Linked DNA regions of Homo sapiens: regions 1, 3 and 4 are each linked to region 2. Evidence: promoter capture Hi-C in 16 types of primary human blood cells and fetal thymus (Javierre and others, 2016). All regions are on one chromosome and are shown on one strand. Each heading gives the region's core, a stretch centred on a gene start or on the middle of the fragment in contact. The rest is flanking DNA. Distances are from core to core; before and after follow the strand shown.

Region 1 (3,484 bases), core at 88-2,587, 170 kb before region 2:
CACTGCCTTGCCCACCTGGGCTGGCGTTCCCACCTTCCCCACCTTCTCAAGATCGCGCGTCTCCAGCCCTCTCCCTCCAGCCCACTGTGTGTCTCTGGAAGCGGCACCTTTCCCCGGGGCGGGGGAGCCCCGCGCCTTCAGGGGGTGGGCGCAGTTCAGAGACCCCAAATTTGAGAGGCCCCCTTCTCTGCGTCCCCTCCGCCTCGAGCAGAGGCTCCTTCCCCCATGGGGTCCTGGGCTTTGGAGCCCCGGAGCCGGCCTGCCGAAGCTCAGCGAGGATCGTGCTGGTTTCAGGAGGAAGCCTGCGCTGGGCGCCGCCAACAGGGCTCTGGCGCGCTGGCTGCCCGCGGAGTACGAGGACGGGCTCTCCCTGCCCTTCGGCTGGACGCCGGGGAAGACGCGCAACGGCTTCCCTCTCCCGCTGGTGAGGGCAGGCCGGGCCGGGGTGAAGGATGGGAGCCAGAGGGGACGGGATGCACTACCCAAACACGCAGTGAAAGGAGGAGGAGGGATCGGTGGGGGCAGCAGGGGTGCGCGATGGAGATCTGCACAGACCCCCACCTTCCGCTAGAGGGCAGCAGAGCTCGGAGCCCGGAGCCCGGCCACGTGGCGGTCACGTTCTGGCCGCCGCAGGCCAGATACCCTGGGGTCTCCCGGGCAGATGGCCTCCCTGCCCCATCCCGCTCGCACTTACCCCAGCCCCCGCCCCTGGAGTGCATCAGCTGTTGTTTGCCTGGAGGTCCTATTTGTTGGCCTTATCGAGCTGGCAGCCCCTACCCAGAGCCCCTCTCCTATTCCTGGACACCTGGCACCTCCGTAGCTCGCATTTCAGAGGCAGCCTGTCTTTGTTTTCCCTCTCTTAGTGGAAAGGGCACCGGCTTGGCAAATCATCAAGTCATACGGATCTGGGTTCAATCCCATCCCTGTCCCTTTGTAGCGGCAGGACCTTGGAGAACTGACTTCACCTGTCCAGGATTCAATCTCCCCCTCTACAGAATAGGCTAATGCCACCCACCTCACAAACTCCTTGTAGGGATTAAGTGCACTTGTAACATGGTAGGTAGTTAATAAGCTGTAGTTGCATCTGAATCCTCAAAGCACTTTTTCCTCTAATCTGCCCTCCCCTTCTCTCTCCATCTGTAGGCCCGGGAGGTATCTAACAAGATTGTTGGCTATCTGAATGAGGAGGGTGTTCTGGACCAAAACAGGTCCCTGCTCTTCATGCAGTGGGGTCAGATTGTGGATCATGACCTGGACTTTGCCCCTGACACCGAGCTGGGGAGTAGCGAGTACTCCAAAGCCCAGTGTGATGAGTACTGTATCCAGGGAGACAACTGCTTCCCCATCATGGTACGGCCCTGCAGCTAGGCATCTCTGACTAGCCCCTTGCCCACCCTGATGTAGCAGACATTCCCAGCTCATCAGCTAGGATCTCTGGATAGATCTGGGATACTGATTTGGTAGTTTCCCATGCCTCACGTGTCCATTCGTTCACTCATCCGTTTATTCAGTAAATAGACATTGACCACCCCATACCAGGCAGTGCACTAAGCGCTGAGGATTCCAAAGTGAACAGGACACCGCTCCTGCTCTCAAGAACAAAGGGCCAGTGTGGGAATTGGACAAGTAAACTACTGATAGCAGAATGGGAACACTGGAGAAGGTTGTCTACATTCCCGACCCAGCAGCATTGGTAAAACCTGCTTATTAGAAATGTAAAATCTCAGTTGGGCGAGGCGGCTCATGCCTATAATCCCAGCACTTGGGGAGGCTGAGGTGGACAGATCACCTGAGGTCAAGAGTTTGAGACCAGCCTGGCCAACATGGTGAAACCCCGTCTCTACTAAAAATACAAAAATTAGCCTGGCGAGGTGGCACATGCATGTGGTCCCAGCTACTCAGGAGGTTGAGGCAGGAGAACCGCTTGAACCTGGGAGGCGGAGGTTGCAGTGAGCCGAGATCACGCCACTGCACTCCAGCCTGGGCAACAGAGCAAGATTCCAACTCAAAAAAGAAAAAAGAAAAAGAAAAAAAAAATGCAAAATCTCAAGTCTCACCCAAGATGTTAGGAAATAGATTCTACATTTTTACCAAGATCAACAGAGATTCATTTTATACATGATAAAGTTTATACTGCTGTACATCATCGTGGAGGATGACTTCAACTCCACTCAGAAGGACTTGAAACCTGGATGAATCCGAGTGAGCAGCAGGGATTTGTAGGGATTTCCATCCGGAAGGGAGAGGAGCTTGCAGCAATGCATCTTTTCTTATTATTCATGGGTATTACAGTTGGAGAGTCATTTCTTCACTCAAAGAATAAATCGAGGCTATGTGCTGTGGTATAAAGAGCATAAACTGTGGAATGAAGCCAATGATCTGAATCCTACATCTTTCCCTTCCAGTGTATAAGTTCTTAGGCAACTTACTTAACTTTTCTGAGCCCCAGTTTTCTCATCTATAAAATGGAACTGAATTGTCCACCTTACAGGGTTTTTTTGAGGACTGAGATGAGTTAAAGTATGCATAATTCCTGGCACATGGTAAGTCCAAAATAAATACATGGCAGCTGTTGTTAGTAGTAATTATTAACAAACCTGTTCCCACCTCGTGTCCTGCTTTCCTGTCCAGGGAGCTCAATACTCCCTCCTCACCAGAAATTTGGAGCCCTCACTGTGAGGACTGAATGATTACCCTCAGTTCTTTCACACAACAGGATGTAATGAACTTCAGGATATTATGAGCCCAGGGTGTGTAATGTCAGCAAGAAGTGTCTGGGGTCAGTGTCTGGTACCAGGGTCCTAGGAGGGTGCCATCAGCATCTTTGCATCCAGACTTGCCCTGGGGAGAGGTTGCCAGGACCCAGCTGTTCCACCCCTGCCCAGTCACTTATGCCCACTCTCTCTGCAGTTCCCACCCAATGACCCCAAGGCGGGGACTCAAGGGAAATGCATGCCTTTCTTCCGAGCTGGGTTCGTCTGCCCCACTCCACCCTACAAGTCCCTGGCCCGAGAGCAGATCAACGCTCTGACCTCCTTCCTGGATGCCAGCTTTGTGTACAGCTCCGAGCCAAGCCTGGCCAGCCGCCTCCGCAACCTCAGCAGCCCCCTGGGCCTCATGGCTGTCAACCAGGAGGTCTCAGACCATGGACTACCCTACCTGCCCTATGACAGCAAGAAGCCAAGCCCCTGTGAGTTCATCAACACCACTGCCCGTGTGCCCTGCTTCCTGGCAGGTGAGTCTAGCCTGGGAACAGAAGGGCCCAAGGACAAGGGGATTATCCAGGGAAGCTTTACCACTGCCCCCTTCTTGTCATCTTTCTGGAAAAATGCACACTGAGCCATTGCTGTCCCTAGCAGTGGTCCAGGACTAGCAGAAGGGCCCAGATGAATAAAGAATTCCAGAACATATGTTCACTGTAAAACAAAATCAGGAAGTCCAGAAAAGTAACAAAGAAAATAAAAAGAAAGTGCCAGGCTTGGTG
Region 2 (3,726 bases), core at 696-3,195:
CAGCAATGCACTTCAACCATACATACTGCTTCCACTAGCTAATACCAAATGCAGGTTCTCAGATCCAGACAAATGGAGGAAAAGAACATTTATGCTTCCGTTTCAGAAAGCCAAGTCGTAGTTTTGGCCCTTCCTTTCTCTAAAGTTTATTCCCAAAAACAGGTAGCATTCCTGATTGGGCAGAGAAGAGGATATTTTCAGCCCACATCTGCTGCAGGTATGTCATTTTCTCCCATCTTCACTGTGACTAGTAAAGATCTCACCACTTCTCTTTGGAATTTCCAACTTTGCTTGTGATTGAATGTCACTTCGTGAATTTGTATTATGTCAGATCACTTGGCATTGCTCTTCCATATGCATCAAGTTGCCAGGCACTAAACCCAATGTTCATGAACAAAACAAGGCAAAGTAAACAGCTAAGGCCATGCATCAAAGGTGAGCGTGAAGAACTCCAGCTCAGAAAAGGAAGGGATGGCCCTTTTTAAGCCATAATATGTGTTAATGGTAAATGACTAAATACCACAAGGAGATTTTTTTTTTAATGGAGGAGAAGAGGGAACAATAATAAAAATTTCAGGCCACACGTTGATGTCCAAAGATGCTACAATATGTATTTAGAAAAGTTTCCACATTAAACTGTATTTCAGTGTGGCCAGGTTTCTAGGCCCACTGCATTTACATACTTTTCATGAACTTAGACATACCATAATTTTTTGTGTTTTACCAAAATTTGCCTATAAATTAGGTGCTAATTTATGTATCTTCACACATTACAGGATAATCCTGAGCATCACAACCTTTTCCAACTTTCATAATTAGAGTATTTGAAAAGGTTAGCTTTCCAATTATTTTTCCCAGTTAAAATTCATATTTCCATCTCCATTTTCTTTTCTCTCTTAAGGATTCTTGATTTTATTCTCCAGCTCGGAAATGCCGAGCACTTTGATTTCCCATGAGATGCTTTTGGAAACTACTTTAATATCCAGATTTTATGATCTGTAATTTTCTAGGTTCATAAGAAAAACAAAGGACTATTCCTCACATGTATCCAAATTCCCTGAGGGGGTAGGGAATAAAAGGTAGGGGGAGCAGGGAGGCGATTAACCACAGGCTCTAGGTAGAATACCCTGAAAAAATACAAATAATCTTGAGTAGAATAGATCTGTGCTATTTCTAGGCACTATGAAAATTTGCGTCTTTGTACAAACACAGAATAAGATTTTTAAAATGTGCACCCTTAAGTAAATATAAATACACCTCACCCACAAAGCCCTCTGTGTTCCAAGGTCAAGTTTAAAAATATTATAAAGTCTTCAGAATAAGTGCTGAAAAGCCAAGCAATTGAACATGAACCTGTTATATGGATTCTTTTCTTTTGCTGAGGCAGAGGGAGGGGGGAAAAAGGAATTTCAAAAGAAATCTGCAAACCTGTTGCGCTGTCGGGCCCACTGGAATCCACGGGGGTGAAACAAATTCAATTATGCTTTTACAGATCCTGCTCAAAAAAGGTTTCAACTGCTTAACCAAGTACAGCTCATTCTTCCACCTTCTTACTCTGCAACCAAACCAAGTGCCCCATACTACAGGTAGGTGCCGAGAAATTCCGCAGCCTGAAAAAATAATCCATGCAGGTCAAAGGCAGAAATTTACTCCGGGATGAGAGATGCTGTCCCCTAGAACTAAATTAAACACTTACAGAAAATCCAAAATCATTTCTGAAACCTCCTTGCTAACAAAAGTTCTTTTTTTCTCCAAACAGCATATAAAATGATCAAGTCTTGAAAGAGAAAAGAAGCAAAGTAGCAAATACATCAACAATTCACTATCAGAAACACATAAAATCCCAGAGAGAGAGAAGGCAGTATCTCTGAATCATGGATGGACTTGGAAAGTTCGGAAGGATTCCGAGTGCTTCCTTTCAGAAAGACAATTCTGGATCAACTCCCTAGAGCAGGAAGCCTGTGGTTTGTAATTGGTGTTCTAGCTCTGACTCCCTCCCCTGGGACTGCAATCACGCTCTCTACCTGCTGACAAAGTGAGGGTGGAGCTGCTAGAGGCAACCACTCCCCACCCTGCCCCCCTCCTCCTGGTGCTCACACACAACACTTACTTAACCAGACCCGTTCTTTCGCTCTCCCCCCTCCCTCAGCTCCTCTACTCCCTCTACTGAGCCACAGCTAAACTGCATCCAATTCGATCCCGAGTACCTTTCTCTGGGTAAGCAAGCTACCACATGCAAATCAGGGCCACTCAAAGATATCTAAGCAGACTCTGCACCCAACAGAGCATAGATGATGGTATGAGGAAATAAACAGAAAAAAATAAAGGTAATCCGGAAGATAAAAGAATGGACACAAGGTTTTGCAAATATAAGTTCAAAAGGATTTCTGCTCATTCCAAGTTTGAGTGTCTATAAATGGCAGAAAGCCAGAATAAAGTGATCCTGTGTTTTAGTACTTACTGATTTATTGCTGCTTATGTCTGCTACCCTGGGAAGGGCTCTGTCCATTTTATGCTTAGCTTTTCTTCAGCTCTTACTAATTTAAATTCAGTAGCTCTGTCTAAACTGTGCCTATATGGAACTTTCAAATCAGGTTGATGTCAGATGTCTGGAATCCAACTGTTATTTTCTTTTCAATCTTTGGGAGGTGAAATAATACTATGGATCAGACCTATGCCTTCAATGTAAGACTCCAAATAAGTCCATGTCATAAATACAAGCCAAAGGGTAAAATATGATTAATGAGAAGAACATAGGCAAAAAGAAAATGAATTTCTGGCTAATTACCACATTCATGAACTATAATCCTTATTACTACCCTGCCATTAGAAATAATACAACAGTTTCTAATACATTTATAACATTTGAAGTTTCAAATTACCAGATTATATTTGACTGTGGTGAGACATTTTATTTCTGAACCGCTGCCATAAACTTTCAAAATTATACAAATGAACAACAATGTGGATATAGTTAAATCTAGTGAACTGTACACTTAAAAATGGTTATGATAGTAAATTTTATGTGTTTCTTACCTCATGTAAAAACGAATCTCTGATCATCTGTAAAATGCTGATGATAATAATTACGATAGGTCTGTTGTAAAGATTAAATGACATAATGCCTCTGAAAGCAAAAAGGATGAGTAGCCTATTGACCTTCAACATTGTTTCCCCTGTAGATAAGGTTTATGACAGTAGTTTCAGAATTTCAGATCTAATAACTAACCTAGATCAAAGACAAATTCGAAAATAAATTTTTTGTTTATTTTTGTTGTTTGAGACAGGGTCTTGTGTTACCCACGCTGGAGCACAGTTGTGCCATCATGGCTCACTGCAGCCTTGACCTTCATGGCCTCCCACCTCAGCCTCCAGAGTAGCTGGGATCACAGGTGCGTCCCACCACACCCTGCAAATTTTTTTTTTTTTTTTTTTGAGACGGAGTCCCGCTCTGTTGCCCAGGCTGGAGTGCAGTGGCGCTATCTCGGCTCACTGCAAGCTCCGCCTCCCGGTTCATGCCATTCTCCTGCCTCAGCCTCCCGAGTAGCTGGGATTACAGGCGCCCGCCACCACGCCCAGCTAATTTTTTGTATTTTTAGTAGAGACGGGGTTTCACCGTGTTAGCCAGGATGGTCTCCATCTCCTGACCTTGTGATCCACCCGCCTCGGTCTCCCAAAGTGCTGGGATTACAGGCGTGAGCCACTGCGCCTGGCCAACACCCTGCA
Region 3 (3,809 bases), core at 719-3,218, 230 kb before region 2:
CCCACAGACCCTCTCCCATGCCCCAGGCCCTGCCCTTGGGAGCTCCTAGTCTGATGGAGGAGGTGAGGTACAAACTGTCACATCAGGCCAAGGCAGGAGGGAGGAGAGAGGGGACAGGTGCTTGCCCTCAGCTGGCCCTCTAGTGTGGACCTGTGCACCTCCCAAGTGCTCACCAGAGAGCCCTCCTGCCCCCGCGATCTTCTTCTTGCCCTTTAGTGACTTTACTAGCAGATCAGAGAGGCCAAGCCCTTGCTCAACGTCACACGGTCAGAAGTGGTGCCAGACCCCCAGGCCAGCTCTCCAAGTCCCCGAACTGAGTTTTCTTCAGCCTTGCTAAAGGCAGAGGACTGAGAGCTTCCTTGGTCAGGAGAGTCCTCATCTCTGGACCACACATGTACACATGTGTACATATACACATGCACACATGTGCACAAACTCCTGGCCTGCCTCAGCCTCTGGTACAGTGTGGGGCCACTGCAGTTTGAGCCAGAACCCTCCTCCCTGCACACCCTCAGTGTTCTCATGAAAATAGGGCCAAGGACCTCATTCTCAGGAAGCCCTGGGAGCAGAAGCAGGCCCTTCAGGCCCCGCACTTTGGCCAGTCCCTGCTGTCTCAGTTGGGGCCGTTGGAGCTGAGCAGATAAAGAGATCTAATCAGGCCTGTGGCCAGCAGCTCCACCATGGACGGTTCTTGTGAAAGCAGAAGCTTGAAGTTTTGAGCTGGCCAGGGGAGGGTAGGCAGGTGTGGAGGATATTGGGTATTGCAGCTGAAAGATGCCCAGGAAGGAAAGCTCCCTCATGGTCTAGGGGCTGGATACTGACCAGGCAGGGCCAGGCCTGCCACAGCATCCACTGACCCAGGGCTGGCCTGGCCCCGAAAGAACAATGCCCCTGACAAAAGGCACTGAATCCTGACGGATGTACAGGCACAATCCATTCCCTGACTCAAGAGCCAGCCATGAAAATCAAGGTGAGAGCAAATGCATTCATTCCACAAATACATATTCAGCCTCTGCCAGGTATTGTGTTAGGTAATGAGGTTACAGTGAGCATCAAAACAGGCACACACCTGTTTTCTGTGACACTCACAGACCTGCAGGGACTGGAGCTTAGTCAAATCCAACCCTAGAGATATGTGTTTAATGATGTTACTCTCTAGGAAGGGAGCTACAAAAGTAAGGAATGGGAAGGACCAGACTGTGGAGGTGGGACAGAAAAGCTCTCTGTGGATAAGACCCAGAGGATGAATAAGAGTTGGCCAGGCAAACAGACGGAAGAGGCTTCATGGTTATGACCCAAAACAGGAAGGAAATAGGCCTGTTTTGGGGACTGTAAGCCAGTGGGTTCAGAGGGCAGAGGAATAGAGGGTGAGGGGATGGGACACTGGAGAGGAAACTGGCAGGTGCCAGACTGTGCAAATCCCTGCGGGTTCCCTTTCCTTAGGAGCAACTGCAGCAGAGGCGACTGGATGTTTACAGGACCAGTGGTGCCAGATCTCCCAAGGCCTCATACTCCCATAGCCACCAGGGAGGGAGGGACAGCAGCAACCAGAGGGCCGGCTGGTCAGGGCCCTCTTCCCCAAAAACACCTCTACCTTCTCTGTCCCCTTCATTCCCAGTCTCCAAGCAGCCTTGTTTTCTCCTGTCGCCCCAAGAGCAGTCTTTCTGGTGGGTCTCATTACAAACATTTCCTCCTGTGTAGCTTGGTCTTGGACATTTCTTTTGCCCATTTCCCTTTCTGGAGAAGAGCTCTCCCACACAACTCCCAAGCCTCTGAAGTCCAACCAGGTCCCAGGCCTGTAGGGAGCCTGGCCCAGGCCCAGCAGCGGGTTCTGGACTCCACTTATTGAGGGAAGAGCTCACACAGGCCTTGAAGGGAGCCGGGCTTCCCACATGCCCAGCCCTGGGAGGTGTCCCAAGTGATGTCCCCAGCAGGTGGCCTCCATGTCCAGTGGGTTGTCCATCCTCACCTCCCTTGGACAGCACCCGCTCTAACCACCCACCTGGCCAGCCTTGCAATGGAGATGGCCTCAGGACCCACTTGGTGCCCACCCTAAGGCTCTTCGTTCTCTACATCACCTCGTGGTGGCACCCCCACCCCTGCCCCACCCCACCCACCTGGCTTATCAAGGTCAAAACCCTGGGAGTGGCTGAACTGCCATCTGGAGAAGGAAGGAGATTTGGGATGTGGGGAGGGAAGGGGACCTGTCTTCCTTTCCAGGGTGAAAAAGGGTGTGTGGACTCACAGAGTTAGTCTGTGACGTGGTTCACTCATGTTCCACAAACATTTCTGAGCGCTGGCCCTGGGCCCAACCCTGTGGTGGGTACAAGGTATGCAGCTGTAAATGAGACCAGGACTGGGGATCAGTGGCCAGTCCAGGAGACGGACACGGTGACAGCATGCCTTCAGTACAGCACAGTATGTGTTGAGGGAAGTATCAGCATCAGGTGCCCCACAGACAAAAATGGGGTGTCTAATTCAGATCATATCTGGGGAGTGAAAAGGAAAGGGATGAGAGAAGGCTACCTGGAGAAAGTAATGACGCGGCTCAGTTGGGAAGATGAGTAGAAGTTAATCAGGCAAAGGGAACACGTGCAAGGACCCAGGGGAGAGGGGAACACGGTGCATCAGAAACCTTCGGGGGATGAAGCTGGAGTGTGGAGGAAGGGTGGTGGAAGAGGTGAGGGCAGAGGCTGGAGAAGTCCTCCAGGGCCTAGGAAGCCATGGAAGGATTTGGAGTTCCCTGTACTGCTGCTGAAGGAATATCATGAATAGACCCCACAGACTGTGACCCTGCCCACTAGGACCCTGGACGGGCTGGGCTCATCCCAGGACACCCATGAGCAATTCCTTCTCTACCTCCAGTGCTCTCCTCTTCCCTCTCCCTGGGAAACCAGAGTGTGTTGAAGGCGGGGTGGGGCAAGGGTATGGAAGGACACGAAAGCCTCCCAACTTGTCACTTAGCAAAGGTAATTAGACGGGACAAATGCCAGTACCAAGGACAGGGCAGAGGAAGCCACCCGTTCCAGGGCAGAAAATAAGGGGTTCGTCATCTATAGGAAGTTTACAAGAAATAACAACACAGATAAAAGGTCAGGCTGCTTACGATGATCACCATGCAGGGGCAAGTTTACATAATTTCAGAGCTCAAATCCTGCTCCCCAAAGAAATCTTGTGTTGGTCTAGATTCTAAACCATTGCTGTGATTACCATTGGGCTTAGTAATATGTGGAAGCTTCAAGTTAATGCACTTTTATTGCTTATCCTTTAAGAAGCACTGTCTTCCATGTGGAAGTTGGTTGGGAGAATTCCCAGTCATACAGTGGCTCGCTTGGCTGAGTATGTTCCCTCTGAGGATGGGCTGATGGCTCAGATTCCTCTGAGCGGTCTTTGGTGCAACGTGCGCCTCCTGCCCCTGTTAGCACTGTAGATTCTTGCATTTAAACAGCTCGTTCGATATAAACAATGATAGCACAGTGATTGTAAAGATGAGGAGACAGAACTTGATTTTTAAGTGCAAATTTTACTTCATACATGAAATATTGTACTGAATTTGAATAATTACTTTAAGATCTAATTTATTCTTCTAAGTTTGTAATTGTTCATTTTAAAACTAATGAATGGATCAAGAAGACAGAAAATGTAATGACATATTAAATATTAAAACTACAAATATGTATGTAGATTTCCCCTTTATTTAAAATGCATTCATGTAATTTAAAAGTATTAATTCATTATACTTTTCTTTTGTATATTATTTATTTGTTTATTTTGTTATGTCTCTACTGGCATGATTATACATAAAATTC
Region 4 (3,741 bases), core at 296-2,795, 250 kb before region 2:
TACAAATTCCCGTGAAAACTGAGGCCCAGAAAGATTAAGTAAGTTACTCATGGTCAAATCACAATGAAATGAAAGACCTGAAATTTGACTTCAGATGTATCTGACTCCAAGTGTCTTCCCACCACTATATGAATCTTTGAAAGGCAGGTTGTATATACTTCTGGATGGCGTTAAGATTTCAGGAATGTATATTCCAGCACCCACTTGTAAACGATCCAGAGACAAGACAGCACCTAGTATAATGGTCTACACATAAGGATGCTCATCATATGGGCCTAAAACCTTGGTTCTGAGCCCCTGAGCCCTGAAAGGGAAAGTAGTGACTTCATGTATCTGTGTCTGTGGTTCATTTTCTTCAGGTGTATGGAGAAAACACCATGGAAACAGGGAACCTCACGTGGGTATCAGACTTTGTCTTCCTGGGGCTCTCGCAGACTCGGGAGCTCCAGCGTTTCCTGTTTCTAATGTTCCTGTTTGTCTACATCACCACTGTTATGGGAAACATCCTTATCATCATCACAGTGACCTCTGATTCCCAGCTCCACACACCCATGTACTTTCTGCTCCGAAACCTGGCTGTCCTAGACCTCTGTTTCTCTTCAGTCACTGCTCCCAAAATGCTAGTGGACCTCCTCTCTGAGAAGAAAACCATCTCTTACCAGGGCTGCATGGGTCAGATCTTCTTCTTCCACTTTTTGGGAGGTGCCATGGTCTTCTTCCTCTCAGTGATGGCCTTTGACCGCCTCATTGCCATCTCCCGGCCCCTCCGCTATGTCACCGTCATGAACACTCAGCTCTGGGTGGGGCTGGTGGTAGCCACCTGGGTGGGAGGCTTTGTCCACTCTATTGTCCAGCTGGCTCTGATGCTCCCACTGCCCTTCTGTGGCCCCAACATTTTGGATAACTTCTACTGTGATGTTCCCCAAGTACTGAGACTTGCCTGCACTGACACCTCACTGCTGGAGTTCCTCAAGATCTCCAACAGTGGGCTGCTGGATGTCGTCTGGTTCTTCCTCCTCCTGATGTCCTACTTATTCATCCTGGTGATGCTGAGGTCACATCCAGGGGAGGCAAGAAGGAAGGCAGCTTCCACCTGCACCACCCACATCATCGTGGTTTCCATGATCTTCGTTCCAAGCATTTACCTCTATGCCCGGCCCTTCACTCCATTCCCTATGGACAAGCTTGTGTCCATCGGCCACACAGTCATGACCCCCATGCTCAACCCCATGATCTATACCCTGAGGAACCAGGACATGCAGGCAGCAGTGAGAAGATTAGGGAGACACCGGCTGGTTTGAGAGTGACAATGGTAGGTTTCTTCTCTTTGGCTTTGTTTTCCCTTTGTGAAGTGGAGAGGGAGCTACTACCTTTGCTCTCTTCATAGTGTGTTGAGGTTCATCATAGCAGGGAATGAATTTTGAAACTAAGCAACTTCGTGTTTTAGGAAAAAAGAAAGTATCCTCTTTGGTGGTTAAGGTTTGTGATAAAGAGTTTTAACACACTCGCAACAATGAGAATTGTTCACATGGCCCCTGAAAACCACACCTTCCTTTTCACCTTCTTGGTGGACAGTTTCCTGTTGACAGCATTTCCCCTGTGCGAACATTTCTATTTTCCGTATTTTGAGCTCTCTTCCCAATATTTCCTTTTGGTGTGAGTCTGGGTTGTTGGGAACAGCACAGAATTTGGAGTCTTAAGCTCTAAATTAGAGGCCCTGACCCATCATTGACCAAACTGATGACTTCGAGTAAGCCACCCAGCTTTTCTTGGCCTCATGATTTCTCCCTCACCAATTTGCTTAAATTAGTATGTGCCCCTAAAATATTCTATGTTTGTTATGAGATTCAAATAAAAAAATTTTGTGATAAAACAACAAGTAAATCATATAACTATATGTTATCTTCCAAGCTTTTAAAAATGATTGTATTTTATTTTCAAATATGAAATTATTATGAGTATTCAAGCTTTTTCTCTCTATATTTACATTTTAATATAATATACAAATTTTGAATAAAAGATCATGGGCAATGCATGCACATTATGAAACTTATGTCATTATGTATAAATGCTCATGTATACACTACTCGATTCAAGAACCAGAAGTTACCAATAACTTGCCTTCACCTGTATTGTCCTCTCCATTGTGTTCACCTTGATTCCTATCCAGAAGAAATCACTCTGTTGAATTTCATGTTTATCACTTCATTGCTTGTATAAAATAGTTTCATCACTTTTTTTACATAAACAGTATATTGTTTTGCTACTTTGGAGTTTTATAAAGATATTGTACTGTACATAATATTCTGGGATTTGCTTTTTTCACTCCATGTTATGTTTCTAACATAACATGTTGATGTTTGGCTCTAATTCATTCATTTGCTCTGCTGTAGAATATTCCACTGTGAAAATAAGTTTATTTGGGTTGTTTCCAGGTTTTGGCTATTGGAGAGTGCTTTTTTTGAGACGAAGTTTCACTCTGCTGCCGAGGCCGGAGTTCACTCATCACCACACCCAGCTAAGTTTTGCATTTTCAGTAGAGATGGGGTTTCTCCATGTTGGAGTTGTGACCATTATTGCCTAAACTATTTTTACTGCGCCTTTCTCTCCTCTTCTTCCAGGATTCTCATTATGTGTGTGTCTTGGTATCCTTGATGGTGTCTCACAGGCTTCTGAGCCTATGTTCATTTTCGTTTATTCTTCTTTTTGCTCCTTAGACTGGATGATTTCAATTGACCTATAATATCTCTAGACCTCTGATTCCGAAATGCCATCATAGAGGAAAATTGGATTCACTCCCCGACTTCCACAGAACCAAAAACAAATATATAGCACTGAGATCTACACCAGAAACAACCCAGAGCTCAAGTATAAGAGTGAGACAGTTCTTGGGGCCACAGAGGGATGAAAAAAGTCCAAGCAGCTGATAGGAGAATCAGACTTCCACATCTGGGACACCCCTCATCCCCATTCTGTCCAGCACCAAGTGCCAAAAAATCTCCTCCCAACTACAGTTTCTACACTGGAAAAACTGAAATTGAGGTGGCCCACCAGCTTCCTTACCTTCTTGGGGTCCCTGGCAGGAGAACTGTTCTTGCCTTAATCCACAGATAGCATCATGACTGCCTGAAAGAAGAAATGTCCCCGAAGAAAGGCAGAGAAATTCTGCTCTGTAACTCAGCCAAAGGAGACACCAACTCAGAGTTGCTGTCCAGCAGCACCATGCTGTAGGAGGCATGTTCCCCAGGTCCCCTGGGCACAAACCCCTAGCCAGACTTCCCACACTGCCAGGATAATCTCTTTGGGATCTCCTTGATTTGAGACAGGAAGTGCTTCAACCATTTACTAGTCCTGAGGTGAACCTGGGCTTAAGGCACCACCTAGAGTCGAATAGAGGCAGTGACCTAGCAGTGAAGATTCAATAAGCAAATGTATTCAATAAAAACCAAAACAAGCTGTACAGAGAAAACTGGAAAGATGGATACATACCCACAAGAAACAACAGCAAACAGGGAACTATGACTTCCTCAAAAGGAAAAAGCAAAAATCCAGTCACTGATCCTAACAAGATGGTGATTAGTGAGCTCTCTGACCAAGAATTCAAAATAGGAGTTTCAAGGAAACTCACTGATCTCCAAGAAAACACAGAAAAGCAATTTAGAAATTTAACAAAGAGACTGAAATGATTCCAAAATGTCAAACAGAAATCTTGGAACTCAACTAACCTATCTTCAGATTCAT

What was found. Contacts are between HindIII fragments. The CHiCAGO score rates a contact against its expected background, and 5 or more counts as called.
Region 1: a fragment that was not itself captured here is called in contact with the fragment with the promoter of RNF43 in region 2 in 3 of 17 cell types (M2 macrophages, neutrophils and monocytes); the score reaches 5.9 in M2 macrophages.
Region 3: a contact is called between a fragment that was not itself captured here and the fragment with the promoter of RNF43 in region 2, in 1 of 17 cell types (M2 macrophages). The highest score is 5.1, in M2 macrophages.
Region 4: a fragment that was not itself captured here is called in contact with the fragment with the promoter of RNF43 in region 2 in 1 of 17 cell types (M1 macrophages); the score reaches 5.5 in M1 macrophages.

What each region holds. Positions count from the first base shown.
Region 1 is chr17:58,249,272-58,252,755 of GRCh38, forward strand. LPO (lactoperoxidase) reads left to right here. Exons shown (of 13, transcript NM_006151.3): 6 at 295-424; 7 at 1,144-1,350; 8 at 2,911-3,235. Among named protein-coding and RNA genes, the nearest start is that of LPO, 12 kb to the left of the region's middle. RefSeq lists enhancers at 1-78, 209-278. The HindIII fragment of the contact is 3,901 bases long and covers 1-3,288 here.
Region 2 is chr17:58,415,589-58,419,314 of GRCh38, forward strand. It overlaps RNF43 (ring finger protein 43), which reads right to left and starts at 1,946. Exons shown (of 10, transcript NM_017763.6): 1 at 1,429-1,946; 2 at 1-374. The HindIII fragment of the contact is 6,426 bases long and covers 1-3,726 here.
Region 3 is chr17:58,184,912-58,188,720 of GRCh38, forward strand. No RefSeq gene overlaps it. Among named protein-coding and RNA genes, the nearest start is that of EPX, 5.9 kb to the right of the region's middle. The HindIII fragment of the contact is 2,529 bases long and covers 705-3,233 here.
Region 4 is chr17:58,169,279-58,173,019 of GRCh38, forward strand. It overlaps OR4D2 (olfactory receptor family 4 subfamily D member 2), which reads left to right. Exons shown (of 2, transcript NM_001004707.4): 2 at 360-1,838. The coding sequence starts at 378. The coding sequence ends at 1,301. Among named protein-coding and RNA genes, the nearest start is that of OR4D2, 4.2 kb to the left of the region's middle. The HindIII fragment of the contact is 727 bases long and covers 1,183-1,909 here.